4 separate regions of the Homo sapiens genome follow, and regions 2, 3 and 4 are each linked to region 1. The links are contacts of gene promoters, found by promoter capture Hi-C in blood cells and fetal thymus (Javierre and others, 2016). All regions are on one chromosome and are shown on one strand. Each heading gives the region's core, a stretch centred on a gene start or on the middle of the fragment in contact. The rest is flanking DNA. Distances are from core to core; before and after follow the strand shown.

Region 1 (3,291 bases), core at 724-3,223:
GCAAAGTTCTAATGGGTTGATGAATACATGGGAAATGAGGAAATAGATATAAGAAATGAATACCAAAATTTCTGGAAGCTCCACAGTAACCAAATGAGGAATTCGGTGCTGTTGCAAGAACTAGATTGAATGAAAAAAAATAAAGTTAAAGGCCAAATATAATTATTACAGACCTAATTTAAAAAAATTATGACTCTTTTAAGTGCTTATGATGCTTTAAAAATGTTTTAAAAATCTGTATTTTTATGTTCTGTGTAACTCGCATAAAATGAGTTCTCATTAAACTTCATTTTTACTTATACAACCATGTCTTCCAATAAGTATATGTTCTATACCTTCTCAGAGTATACTCTGTTATGTGTTGTATGTGGAATATACAATGGGAACAATTGTGCTCAATTACTATTCTGCCCAATGCTGTAGCTTACCATGTATAGAGTGATAGTCTATAATACATGCATAGGACAATGACTAACATATTCTTACAATATCTCCTTTGAAGGGGAATATTCTGATTAATTTATGATGTGGTAGTAATAAATACTTAAAATAACACATGAACACGCTAATATAAGCACTGATTTCATTATTTTATTTATTTATTTATTTAAAGACAGTCTCACTCTGTCACCCAGACTGGAGTGCATTGGCATCATCATGGCTTACTGCAGCCTCAACCTCCTGGGCTCAGGTGATCTTCCCACCACAGCCTCACAGGCAGCTTAGACTACAAGTGTGTGCCATCATGCCCAGCTAATTTGTTGTGTTTTTTGTAGAGACAGGGTTTTGCCATGTCACCAGGCTGGTCTCAAACTCCTGGACTCAAGAGACCAACCTGCCTTGGCCTCCCAAAGTGCTGGGATTACAGCTGTGAGCCACTATGCCTGGCCTCTTATTTTTGTTTCTTATTCATATTATCTAAGAATTTTAATTTACTGTCAGTGGTTATTGCTTTATGAAATCTCAGTAACAAGAAGCAAAGAAAATGAGATCAGTAAGTGAGAATCCTGAATACATTACGAACTTTTCTGCTCATAAGTCCTCTTGTTTGAACAAACAGGAAGCATTATCATGAAAGTCTCTTCTGATAATTCCACTGCCATTCTTACATCTATCAATGATTGAAATAAAGTATAAAAAATGAGACTAACCGATGACTAATAGGATAGTAGAAGACCCTTAAAATAGTTTTATTCCTCTAGTACAGGTGGTCTTAAATGGGGGTCTTAAAAAAATGATTCTAATTCTCAAGATTTCTAGAAATGCTTCCTAAAAAGTAACCTTTACATTATATCCTTCAAATTAAAAGCAAAGTGCCTTAACAGCGAAGTAAAATCATGTTCCATAGGAATAAATTTCCTCCACTCATTATGAATACAGGTATCAGAAAGATTAAAATTTACTTCTTTCTGTCATTGACACAACTACTCTGCTTATTCTTGCTTAGTTATTTCAGTACCCATGACAGTGTTCCAGCACATAGCTGAGTATGTGGGACAAATTCAGAACACAGAAATTATTATATTAATGCATGAATAAATGAATGAATAGTTGAAGTGTAAGTTCCTAGGAAGAAAGGCAATGAGATAAATCCACTTTTTTTCCCTCACATAGGCCTTGTTTGAAGACAATAATTACATGGCCTGAGGCCCTCTCTTTGAGAATACTTCATTTTTACTCAAAGAGGTCTTACCTAGTATGTAAACCTCATTTGTTTGATCCATTTAACTTCATCATTTGGGAGATATAATGGTTCTCAGACTTGTAATATTTTGACGGCATGAAACAAATAATATTTGATTTGTTACATCTGAAGGATTATAAGGCTAATGAGTAAGAATAACTCGATGCTCCACTTCAGGTGATTCGTATGCTATAGGAGTTAGCAATCTAGTTCTTGTCTTTCGTTTGAATAAATTAACAAATATTCCTAGAGTATCTACTGATTACAAGGCCTGAGCCAGACGGACCTTGTTAGGGACTCTTGAACAAGCAGAACTAAAAGCATGATAGACAAAAGGTAGAAATCTAATTAAAAGCAGTTGAGATGATGACACAAGATCAATTGAAATAATCTGCAAAGCCCAGAATGAAGTTAGACACTTTTCATTTTAGTCTGCTGACAAAATTAAGCAATATAACATCACAAAATATTAGATTTGTTAATTATATATTTGTCTATTTTATGCTTAAGTGTATCTACATTAAATGTTAGATTAAATGCAATGTGGTGTTAGTATTAGACCCTGGAGTAAAGTCATAGGTGAAAAACCAGTGAAAGCAAATAGTCTGTAGTTTAGTTAATATTCTAGCAATATTAATTTTTTTAGTTTTGAAAAATGGTTATAAAAGATGTTAACATTCGGGCAAACTGGATAAAGATTACATGGAATCTCTTTTGGCTATTTTTGTAACTTCTGTAAATTAAAAAGTACTTCAAAATAAAATTATTTAAAATTGTAATTAGAACAACTCTATATTAAATTTTTTCATAACCCTCATTATTGTGTGTGTGTGTGTATATATGTATATATGTATATATGTGTATATATGTATATATGTATATATGTGTATATATGTATATATGTATATATGTGTATATATGCATATATATGTATATATGTGTATATATGTATATATGTATATATGTATATGTATGTATATATGTATGTGTGTATATATATGGTTTTGTTTTGTTTTTTTTTTTTTTTTTTTTGAGACAGAGTCTCTCTCTGTCGCCCAGGCTGAAGTGTAGTGGCGCTATCTCGGCTCACTGCAAGCTCCGCCTCCCAGGTTCACGCCATTCTCCTGCCTCAGCCTCCTGAGTAGCTGGGACTACAGGCGCCCACTATCACGCCCGGCTAATTTTTTGTATTTTTAGTAGAGACGAGGTTTCACCGTGTTAGCCAGGATGGTCTCCATCTCCTGACCTCGTGATCCACCCGCCTCGGCCTCCCAAAATGCTGGGATTACAGGCGTGAGCCACTGCGCCTGGCCTGTTTTAAAATATTTTTAAAACCAAATTGTGAGTCATGTCGATGGCTTATTTGGGACTTTATTCAAGACTCTTTAGTGCCACTGACTTTAATGGTTTGCCCATACATCAAACTGAGCAACCCTAAGGAGGCATTCTTTCCTCTTCATGGCAGAAGTAGTAGTATTTTCCAACAATGACTTCTGCCTTAGGTCTGAATAGTGTCCTAAACATTTTGCCTCATGTTCATTTTAGCTGCACATTTTAAAGGGGACAGTTTCCAGTTACACAATGTTTCTTTTACTATCTGGTAATGA
Region 2 (3,236 bases), core at 514-3,013, 2.2 Mb after region 1:
GTTGACCTATTCTGCTAATATGGGCTGAACAGAAACAGCAATTTGTTCCAGGGCTAAAGACATTTACATTTCAAAAAGATATGCATGAATTAATTCTTATAAGTACTTCCCGAAGGCTCAAAATTTAAAACAAAGATCAAGACCACTAAATTCTTAAACAGTGATGAATGTAAGGTAACAACTACATCTTAGGATCAAATTAGAGTTACTGTAAGAAAGCATTCCTACTATTAAGTGCAGATTTGAAAACATGTTGAAAAATCCCATCGAAGCTGACAGAGCACTGAACCAACTTCTACCTGGAACTTGGTGACAGTGACTGATTTGTCTCTAGCCATAAAGCCCATCAAAAACCAAAAGATTGTCTACTTAGTGGTAAAAAATAATAACGACGATGATAGGAGGATTCTGCTGAACTCATGTTTTCAGTGGACCAAAAATATCTTCCCCTAGGTATGGGGAAGTAACTCAAGTGGAAAGAAGGGATGCTTGAAATTATTGCAAACTCTATTCATTGCATAGATTAGCCACTGGTGGGTACCATGCATCCAGGATTTATGAGGATTTCAAATACGCCGTCCTTTTGCCCCCATAAGTACACTCAAACTCGTGAGACCATGTGCCTCTATTTTTAATTATGAAAATATGGACGCTGTATCTCCACCAGTGGTTAGAACTGTGAAACATCCTAACCACAACGTCCAGAAGGGCGACTGATCGCAGAGCTTCAAGTGATCTTAACTACGTTATGTGTTCCTAACACACTACAGCTGTGTTCCGCGTCAGCGACGCAGGGCAGAACCATCATTGTATTAACCTTTCCCGCTCATGGGACGCGGTGCTTAGTCCCCGGGAACCGACAGGGGCTCCGCCAACAACTCTGCGTCCCGCTCTCGCGGCCCGGACGGCAGCAGCGCAGGTTAACTGGAAATGGCTGGCAAGGAAAACACCTTTTAAAATAATAAAAACAAACCACTTCTCAGGAGCTTTTCCAGCCTGGAATAAGGAATATTTATAAAAACAGTGGTAGAATATTAGGACGTTTCTAGGTTCAGTTTCACCAAGTGAAAAGACCTGGGATAAGACGAGCCCAGGGCTGCACTGGACTTGTGGGATCCAGAGACTACCCAGAAGGGCCCTGCCGTCGAGGGACCCTGATCTCTGCGCGCTTCGGCGGCGCCCGGGTGGCAGCCGGTGTCCCGCCGCGTCCCTGAGAGGCTTCGGCCTCGTCCGACCCCAGGCTGAAGATCAGGTGGCTCGGGGCCGGCAGGTTACCTGCAGCAGATGCAGCTGGGCCACGAGACGCCGCGGCAGGTGGAGGAAGCAGTCGCGAGCGTTGGTGAAGGCCACAGTCACTGCCGCCCCGCCTCCCCCAGCACCCGCCAGGCGATCGCTGCCCCACATCGTCCCGGAGCGTCGCTCTGGGTTCGCCCACCCTAGCGCCGCAAAGGACCCGGGACCCGGCAGGCCGAGGACGTCGGAGCCGGAGGAGATCGATCGGCCCCGCCCCCTGCGGCCCCGCCCCCTCTCCCCGCTGCGCATCCTGCCGTAAGCCTGTAGTGGGTGGGACAAGAAAGCTTCTGTCACCCACCGCGCCTCTCCGCCGAGCCGCTCGGGGGCGGCACCTCGTTCATCAAATCTTCGCACGCAGGAAACGATGGCCGACGCTGTCGATTCTCCAGCCAATCCTGGCACTCCTTAACTCATCCCGCTCTCTTATTGGATAAAAGGGAGCTCAGTAGGGCGGATGTTGTCCTCCCTGCGAGGATCAAAGTAGGCAAGATGGCGTCGAGCGGCGGGGAGCTAGGGAGTTTATTTGATCACCACGTCCAGAGGGCGGTATGCGACACACGGGCCAAATATCGAGAGGGACGACGGCCTCGTGCTGTGAAGGTAAAGTGATTTTGGTTTCATTCGCTCTCCTCGGTAGCTTTATGTGAGTGCTAGCGCCATATGACCAGCCTACGGAAATAAAGGCACGACAAGGCTTCCGTCAGATCTGTCTCTCGTTAGAGCTGGCGTGAAGAACCCTCGGTCAGTTACCAAAGATTCTCACGACGCCTTTGGTCAAGTATTAGAACATCAACTCCACGAGAATAGGCCTTGGTTTTAGTCATTGGATCTTCTGTGTTTACAGTACTACTTGGCACAGGTAAGCACTCAGTGAATATTCGTTGAGTGATTGTTCCCAGTGACTTCTACCGACTCAATTTCTGGAAAAAAATGTCGACTGAAGGTAGTCTGTTATATGCCTTAGGTAGCCTCTCACATGGACTGTTATTCTTTATGCAGAAGGAATGGCAGAAATTTCATTTTGTGTTCTTTTGCTGACTGGGTTGAACAGATTATTTCTTGTTTTCAAAGTTCTCTTTAAAAAAAAATAGAGGCAGATTCGTCCTAGGCTTATTTGCGAAATACGTTTAATAACTCTGCATTTCTTTCAGGTATATACAATCAATTTGGAATCTCAGTACTTATTAATACAAGGAGTTCCTGCTGTGGGAGTCATGAAGGAATTAGTTGAGCGATTCGCTTTATATGGTGCAATTGAACAGTACAATGCTCTAGATGAATACCCAGCAGAAGACTTTACTGAAGTTTATCTTATTAAATTTATGAACTTACAAAGTGCAAGGTAATGTGCAAGTTAAGAAATGACTCATTTCCTCATTTCTTCCATTCATATTTCTGTCATTTTGGCCCCAAGTTTCCCTCATTCATAACTGAATTACCCCAAAACGTAATCTAGCATATCTTCCTCCAGCCTTTTTAAAAGTTAACTTTACTGAAACACTGTATCCATCACATCATTCCCATGCTTAACAATTTAATGTCCTGTAGCTTGGTAGAGTAGAAGTTGGGTTTGGCCAGGCACGGTGGCTCACGCCTGCAATCCCAGCACTCTGGGAGACCGAGGTGGGCGGATCACGAGGTCAGGAGTTTGAGACCAGCCTGGCCAACATGGTGAAACCCCCCTCTCTACTAAAAATACAAAATTAGCTGGGTCTAGTGGCGCAGGCCTGTAATCCCAGCTACTCGGGAGGCTGAGGCAGGAGAATCGCTTGAAACCGGGAGGCAGAGGTTGCAGTGAGCCGAGATTGCGCCATTGCACTCCAGACAGGGCAACAAGAGGGAAGCTCTGCCTCAAAAAAAAAAAAAAAAAAAAAATTTGGGTTTGAAGCCTGGGCGTGGTGACTCACGCCTGTAATCCCAGCACTTTGGGAGACCGAGGCAGG
Region 3 (3,274 bases), core at 314-2,813, 2.1 Mb after region 1:
GCATATTTTAGGATGGCAGGCTCTAAACACCTTCAGCATTGTTCTAAAGTGAGACAACACTCTTTACCTAGTCTCCTCAGCCACTTTTACAGTTGGCCCTAATCCCCATAACAGTCCTGGAAACTTATTTTTACTGTTAAGGAAACTGAGATTTAGAGGGGAGGTGACTGAGCCACAACCCACACCCCAGAGGGCTGTTCCAAAGCCCTCCTCGAAATTGGTGCCAAGGGCAGCAGCTATAATGACAGCCAGTCCACATAGAAGTGCCTCCGTTGATCACCAATTAACAGTAAAATCTGATAATATCTCATTCCAAGGTTGTTATAAGCACTAAATGTGGTTTTGTGACATAATAGGCGTTTGTTTCTCCCCACTGCTTCCCACCACAATATATTCATCAAGACCTTTCCAAGGATACTAAGTCTAGGAAACCCAGGATCATGAAGAGAGGGCATGTTCTTCCAAGTGAGGCTGAGGAGAGACTTGTCTGGCGAGGCCTGTACTGACTAGTGACATTAAAAGAGGCGATCTGACTTCTCATACTGCTCTTGTCCCAGGCCTGCTGTTTGTCAACTGCTGGGTCCTCAGAGCCAAAACTGTTTTCCAACAGTTTTGAATTGAATAACAGCCAGCTATTCGATTTTCTCCGCATTCTCTAATCGGTATACTCTTCAGAGTCCACAGGATTTGCAACGATATTATCCAACGGCTGAAGAATGTGCGCTTGACATCTTAGGCTGTAAAATGTCTCAATTTCAATTTCTAATACATAGATGTCAGTGGATGGCATTTTCTGAACCCTTTGTCGATGTCCATAAACGGCATGCTCTGAATTCAACTAAACAAAAGTATAGACATGGGGGAGGTGTAGGGCGATGTCCAAAGTATAATTTTTAAGAGTGTAAAGGGTTCCTAAGTAAGATTGCCAGATTTTTTTTTTTTTTTTGAGACGGAGTCTCACTCTATCCCCCAGGCTGGAGTGCAATGGCGCGATCTTGGCTCACTGCAGCCTCCACCTCCCGCGCTCAAGAGATTCTTCTGCCGCAGCCTCCAGGGTAGCTGGGATTACCCCAGAGCCCGCCACTGAGCCCGGCTAATTTTTGTATATTTATTAGAGAAGGGGTTTCACCACGTTGGCCAGGCTGATCTCGAACTCCTGAGCTCAAGTAATCCGCCGGCCTTGGTCTCCCAAAGTGCTGGGATTGCAGGCGTGAGCCACCACGCCAGACCTGGATTGCCAGATTTAGCACATAAAAATACAGGACCCCCAGTTAAACGCCTCTCGGATAAACCATTATTGCATGGGATACACTCACGCTAAAAAAATTGTTCGTCGTTTACCTGAAAGTCACATTTAATTGGGCGTCCTGTATTTTACCCGGCAAATTCTAGGCCTGAGACCAAAAAGTTTGAGAACCCTGCCCCTAGGCGACAGCAAGCGGAACTGCAGCAAGCTCCCAGTAATTCCGGGTGCTGCACTTCCGGTCAGGCGGTCGGGCTGCGGGGCCCTGGGGCCAGCTCACCGCCGGAAGTCTCCGCGTCCCCCCCACCCCGGCCAGATCCCTTTCCCAGTCCTGCTTCCCAGTGCCTCGGGCCAGGGAATCCTGGCCTCCGCCTGCGGAGCCGGCGGAACCCGCTTCCCGCCTCCACGGGGCAGCGCCAGCGGCCTGGTCCTTTCACCGGCAGCTCCGTGCCGACGCTCTCACCGCTCTTCCTATCGCCGGGAGTGGCGGGCCGACCAGGGGGCGGCCGGGCTACCGTCCGCCATTCCCGTGTCTCTGCGCCCGCGGGGGCCGCCCGAGCCGGCCACCATGCCGCTGGGCCTGAAGCCCACCTGCAGCGTATGCAAGACCACGTCGTCCTCCATGTGGAAGAAGGGAGCGCAGGGGGAGATCCTCTGCCATCATTGCACTGGCCGGGGCGGCGCGGGCAGCGGGGGCGCAGGCTCGGGGGCGGCTGGAGGGACTGGGGGCAGCGGCGGCGGCGGCTTCGGCGCGGCGACCTTCGCCAGCACCTCCGCCACCCCTCCGCAGAGCAACGGGGGCGGGGGCGGCAAGCAGGTGAGCTCCTCCGGCCCCTCCCGCCGGCGGAGGCCGACCAGGTGCTAGGCGGGCGGGGACGGGCTGGCTGGGAGCGGGCGGGCGCGGGCTTCCCCGATCGCCGTGCTCCTGCTGGCTGGAACGCCCCTCCCCACCTCCTACTGAGATCTTTCGTTTGGCCCATTCCGAAGCACCTGTTATTGTAAGAAATTCAAAGCAATAAGAACCAAGATGTAAAGCCCTTAAGAAAATCTCAATATACACATGTCTACACAGTCGTATACAGTGTCATGCCACAAATGCAGGCGCTGGACCTCATTCCTTGTTAAAGGTTTTGTCATATCAGGTTATGAAGTAAGATTATTATGTCATTATTGTAAATGGCAGCTTAAGTATTCCGTTGCAGGGGGCGCCATAACCTACTACGTTCTCTGGCCTTAGGGAGTAAAGTTGTTAAGTGTTTTTCTCTATTGTAGACACAACAAATGAATAGTGTTTGTCTTGGTCAAGACTGACTCCTACTCCCGCCTCCTGCCCTATTACAAGCAGCTCACACCTTTTGGAGGCTCTGGAGACGCCTGTCCAGCGAGCTCCGAGATTCCGGGTGCTGAACTTCCGGTTTTACTTAGCCTAGTTGCTGTAATTACTTCTCTTGAAAAGCAAAAGGGCAATCTTAATTGTTAAATGCTCTTATAAAGTACATACTCTGGGATCCTTGTAAGATGATTGTACTGCAACCTTTATGCACTTTTTACTTCTTTCTCTTTTTGTTCTTTAATTTGTTTGTGTAACAGAGTAAGCAGGAAATTCACAGGAGGTCTGCTCGGCTCAGAAACACTAAATACAAATCTGCTCCGGCTGCTGAAAAGAAAGTCTCCACCAAAGGAAAAGGGAGAAGACATATATTTAAATTGAAAAATGTAAGATATTTGTGGACAGTGCCTTTTACTGTAATGACGTTGTGTGTATCCTGCCACTGCCTTCATTTCTCACCATTGAACTTGGACTCTGCCCTTGGTAGCCCTTCCTTAGTATTCTGGGGAATGGTCCAGATTCCCCAAAAGGGAATGAGCTCTGTTGCAGGAGGCTCACTGTTTATAAAGTTAATAATACTCTTTCCTTTTTGTTTTTTAGCTTTTATTTTTTCCCCTGGAAAATATAAAATATGGGTTTAAAAGAAACATCAACCTTGAGCCCATTTTTTGGGGTTCTCTATGGAAAGGAAGAGGAGAGAT
Region 4 (3,206 bases), core at 622-3,121, 2.5 Mb before region 1:
GTACTGTACTTATCTCTGCCACCTACTCAAATTACCCTTAAGGAAACCAAGGATACCTGAAACGCCAAAATCAAATACTTATTTTTCAAGTCTTAACCTTATCTGTCCTGGGGATGAAGGAACTGGTGCAGTGTTCACTAGAATGATAGTAATTATGGAGCTCTTAAGGAGCTCTACTCTGTGCCAGGCACTGTACTAAGCATTCAAAAATGTTCATTTAATCTTCACAACATCCCTGAGAAGTACTACCCCCTTTTAATAGATTAAAATTGGGGCTCAAAATTACCCAGAGGCCAAGTAGTTAGTGAAGCCCATATGATTCCAATGTTTGCAGTCTCTTCCCAATTCTGTGGCATTTTCTCCATCTCTTTCACTATTTCATCAACGACGCTTATAATCAATTCTCTTATTTCACATGCTCTCCTTGGCAATTTCATTTCCTCCCAAAGCTTTAACTACATTCTATATTAGTGCTTCCCAACTTTTTAAATCTTTCTGTAAATATAAACATTTTGTGCTCTCTGTAGCTTATATTTTGAAAATAAGTTTTTTCCCATAGAAATTACAATATTGAATATGTTTGTTCAAACTACACTTCCTTCCACCACTCAAGATCTGTTAACCTCTAATGAATTGCCCCATGATTGACATCAATAGACCTTGATGCAGAAATATTTTATTGGAGAGATATCAAATCAATCTCTATTTCCTCTTCCCATGTCCACTTCTGCTAGACATTTCTCTCGAGTCATAAACATCTTTAACTGTCTAATAAGCATAGTTCCATGACTGTCGCCCCAGGCCCTTCAACATAAACCTGTCTAAAACCAAACTCTCATTTCCCTTAGCAAACCTGTTCTCTGCGTTCTCCAGCTAATCTTGTCACAACCCACCCTTGTCTATTCTTTAAGGTACCTACCTGCAAAACCGTAACGCTGATACTCTGACTTCCTTGAGCTACCAGGTAAAAAAATCAACCACTACAGGAGTGCCTATTATGGCCTGGAGTAGAGGAATGCAAAATAGTTCAAAATATCCTCTTCCTCCTGAAGAAACAGATTTTTTTTTTTTTTTGGAGAGGCATGTTCCAACTTATAAAATTAAAATATATTCACAAGCATTTTAATTTGATCTTTAATCTCTGTTTTACAGGAAAAAAAAATGAGATGTTACTTTCCACTCCTTCATTGTTGAAATAAACTTACACTCAACTAAAAGAAAACAGGTCTGAATACAATAAAAGTCAACAGGACAGCGCAAATAGCCAACTACCCAAGGACACAAAGTGACCTGGAGGCGTTCTGCGGTGGCGCTGCCGTCAAGGCCGGGGCCGCCTGGCCAGACCCTCCCTCAGACGCCCCCCGGGGCCGCCCTCACTCCCGCACGTCCCTCTGCAGCTGTCCTCAGCCGGTGGGGTCGGCAGTGACCGCGGGAAAACCCCGCTTGCTGTGCGACCCAGGGCGCGCTGAGCAGGGGCTGCGGCTGCCGCCGCTGTCCGGCTCCGGTTCCGGCCCCGGCCCCGGGCCCGGCCAGAGCTGAGTCCGGACTCAGCCAAAGCCCCTCGCCTTCAGCTTCCCAGACGTCCGACCAGTGGAAAATTAGCATACCTGGGGCAGAAGGCAGCTGCAGGGCCGGCAGTCCTGGCAAACCTAGAAGGCGGGAATAACCCTGGTGACGGGCGGGGCCGGGCTCCGGCGCTAACTGCATCCACTAGGTTTGGTCAACACAGAGCCGCGCCAACTCTCTGAGGCTGCGCCAAGACCTGAAGCGGCGGACCGAGAGCCCGGGTCTGAGACTGAGAGAGCAACGGAATGGAGGCGGGGTAGAGGCGGAAACACAACCTGCAGGGCCAGAGCGAGGCGCGAGAAGGACGGCGGCGTGAGGGGGCGGGGCGCGCAGCGCGAGAAGGCAGGCACGAGGGGCGAGCGCGAGGCGGGGCACGGCGCGTGGCGTGAGACGGGGCGGGGCGCGCGTATCGGCGCCGCGGCCGCGTGACGCGTTTTCAAATCTTCAACCGCCGCAGCCCACTCGTTTGTGCTTTGCGCCTTCCTCCTCCGCGCCTTGGAGCCGGATCCGGCCCCGGAAACCCGACCTGCAGACGCGGTACCTCTACTGCGTAGAGGCCGTAGCTGGCGGAAGGAGAGAGGCGGCCGTCCTGTCAACAGGCCGGGGGAAGCCGTGCTTTCGCGGCTGCCCGGTGCGACACTTTCTCCGGACCCAGCATGTAGGTGCCGGGCGACTGCCATGAACTCCGGAGCCATGAGGATCCACAGTAAAGGACATTTCCAGGGTAAGAAGCCCCTCCTCCGCCTGCAGTCCCTTTAATCCTTTCCTCCCCTCGTGGTTCCACCATTGATTCTTCAGACTTCTCCCGCCGGGTCCTCAGCTTCTTTTCTTCTGACCGGCCTCTGGGGTCTGAAGGAAGGAGCCCCCGTTCAGTGTTTTGCCTAAGAAGGAACGGATCCTGACCCGGCCCCTCGAGCGCTCTGCCGTTTACAGCGGCGGTCCCAGATTGATTCCCGGTCGTGCCTTCGGTTGAAAACTAGCAAACAATGTGCAGATCCGGGACCTCGCCGGGACTGCGGCGCTGTCTGCTCCCGGGCTCTCGCATATGCTAAGCCTCCGCCCGGGCCCTTGGAGGCGACGGACTGCATCCTCAATTTAAAGTCAGACGCGCTCGTGGCTTTTCGCTTCAGGATTAGATTGAGTGATTGTGGGTGGATTTTTGGTCTTACCCTTGAAAGTTTATTTTCCTTTCCTCATAAGTTGGGGGAAAGCATTGTATTTCAAACACCCCATTGCTGGTTTCAACATTACAAACAGGGAAACAAAAGCAAATTTCCATTTTCAGTCACTTTATTTGGTGAAACATTCCAGCACCTAAGTTTTTTGTACAGGTGTTTGTGTGTGTGTAGTAACTACCAATTTAAGAACAGATTGCGTTTGAAAAATTAATTTTTAAAGCAGTTGCTTGGATCTCAGATCTGTTTCTAATGAAAATAATGAAAGGTTTAGTTCTTCGTAATGGACCGTTAAGTTCTTAATACGTAGACAAATTGTATGTGAAATGGACCGTTTAGTTGTTAATATGCAGACAAACTTTATATGAAACTAAAACTTGAGCAGTCTGAAACCCTTGAGGACTAGGTTATTCTGCGTAACAGAGGATTCTTTCATCGCTAAATGAAGTTTAAACACCAGTTTTG

Evidence for each region. The method cuts DNA at HindIII sites, captures the fragments that hold promoters and counts their contacts. A CHiCAGO score of 5 or more calls a contact.
Region 2: a contact is called between the fragment with the promoter of RBM48 here and a fragment that was not itself captured in region 1, in 1 of 17 cell types (fetal thymus). The highest score is 5.6, in fetal thymus.
Region 3: a contact is called between the fragment with the promoter of GATAD1 here and a fragment that was not itself captured in region 1, in 3 of 17 cell types (activated CD4 T cells, naive CD8 T cells and total CD4 T cells). The highest score is 7.6, in activated CD4 T cells.
Region 4: the fragment with the promoter of SLC25A40 here is called in contact with a fragment that was not itself captured in region 1 in 5 of 17 cell types (fetal thymus, total CD4 T cells, activated CD4 T cells and 2 more); the score reaches 11.7 in fetal thymus.

Annotation. Positions count from the first base shown.
Region 1 is chr7:90,341,632-90,344,922 of GRCh38, forward strand. LOC107986715 (a long non-coding RNA gene) reads right to left here. Exons shown (of 4, transcript XR_001744961.2): 2 at 64-120. LOC101927446 (a long non-coding RNA gene) reads left to right here. Exons shown (of 6, transcript NR_110085.1): 6 at 614-2,463. Among named protein-coding and RNA genes, the nearest start is that of GTPBP10, 3.4 kb to the right of the region's middle. The HindIII fragment of the contact is 5,064 bases long and covers 1-3,291 here.
Region 2 is chr7:92,527,032-92,530,267 of GRCh38, forward strand. RBM48 (RNA binding motif protein 48) reads left to right here and starts at 1,764. Exons shown (of 5, transcript NM_032120.4): 1 at 1,764-1,893; 2 at 2,445-2,635. The coding sequence starts at 1,783. PEX1 (peroxisomal biogenesis factor 1) reads right to left here and starts at 1,489. Exons shown (of 24, transcript NM_000466.3): 1 at 1,276-1,489. The coding sequence starts at 1,404. RefSeq lists enhancers at 908-1,087, 1,688-2,067 and a silencer at 1,318-1,547. The HindIII fragment of the contact is 3,452 bases long and covers 1,576-3,236 here.
Region 3 is chr7:92,445,919-92,449,192 of GRCh38, forward strand. GATAD1 (GATA zinc finger domain containing 1) reads left to right here and starts at 1,564. Exons shown (of 5, transcript NM_021167.5): 1 at 1,564-2,060; 2 at 2,834-2,959. The coding sequence starts at 1,812. RefSeq lists a silencer at 1,484-2,253 and an enhancer at 2,684-2,733. The HindIII fragment of the contact is 4,596 bases long and covers 1-3,274 here.
Region 4 is chr7:87,874,489-87,877,694 of GRCh38, forward strand. SLC25A40 (solute carrier family 25 member 40) reads right to left here and starts at 1,872. Exons shown (of 12, transcript NM_018843.4): 1 at 1,608-1,872. DBF4 (DBF4-CDC7 kinase regulatory subunit) reads left to right here and starts at 2,005. Exons shown (of 12, transcript NM_006716.4): 1 at 2,005-2,290. The coding sequence starts at 2,245. RefSeq lists silencers at 1,265-1,714, 1,845-2,104 and enhancers at 1,468-1,977, 2,165-2,284. The HindIII fragment of the contact is 3,397 bases long and covers 448-3,206 here.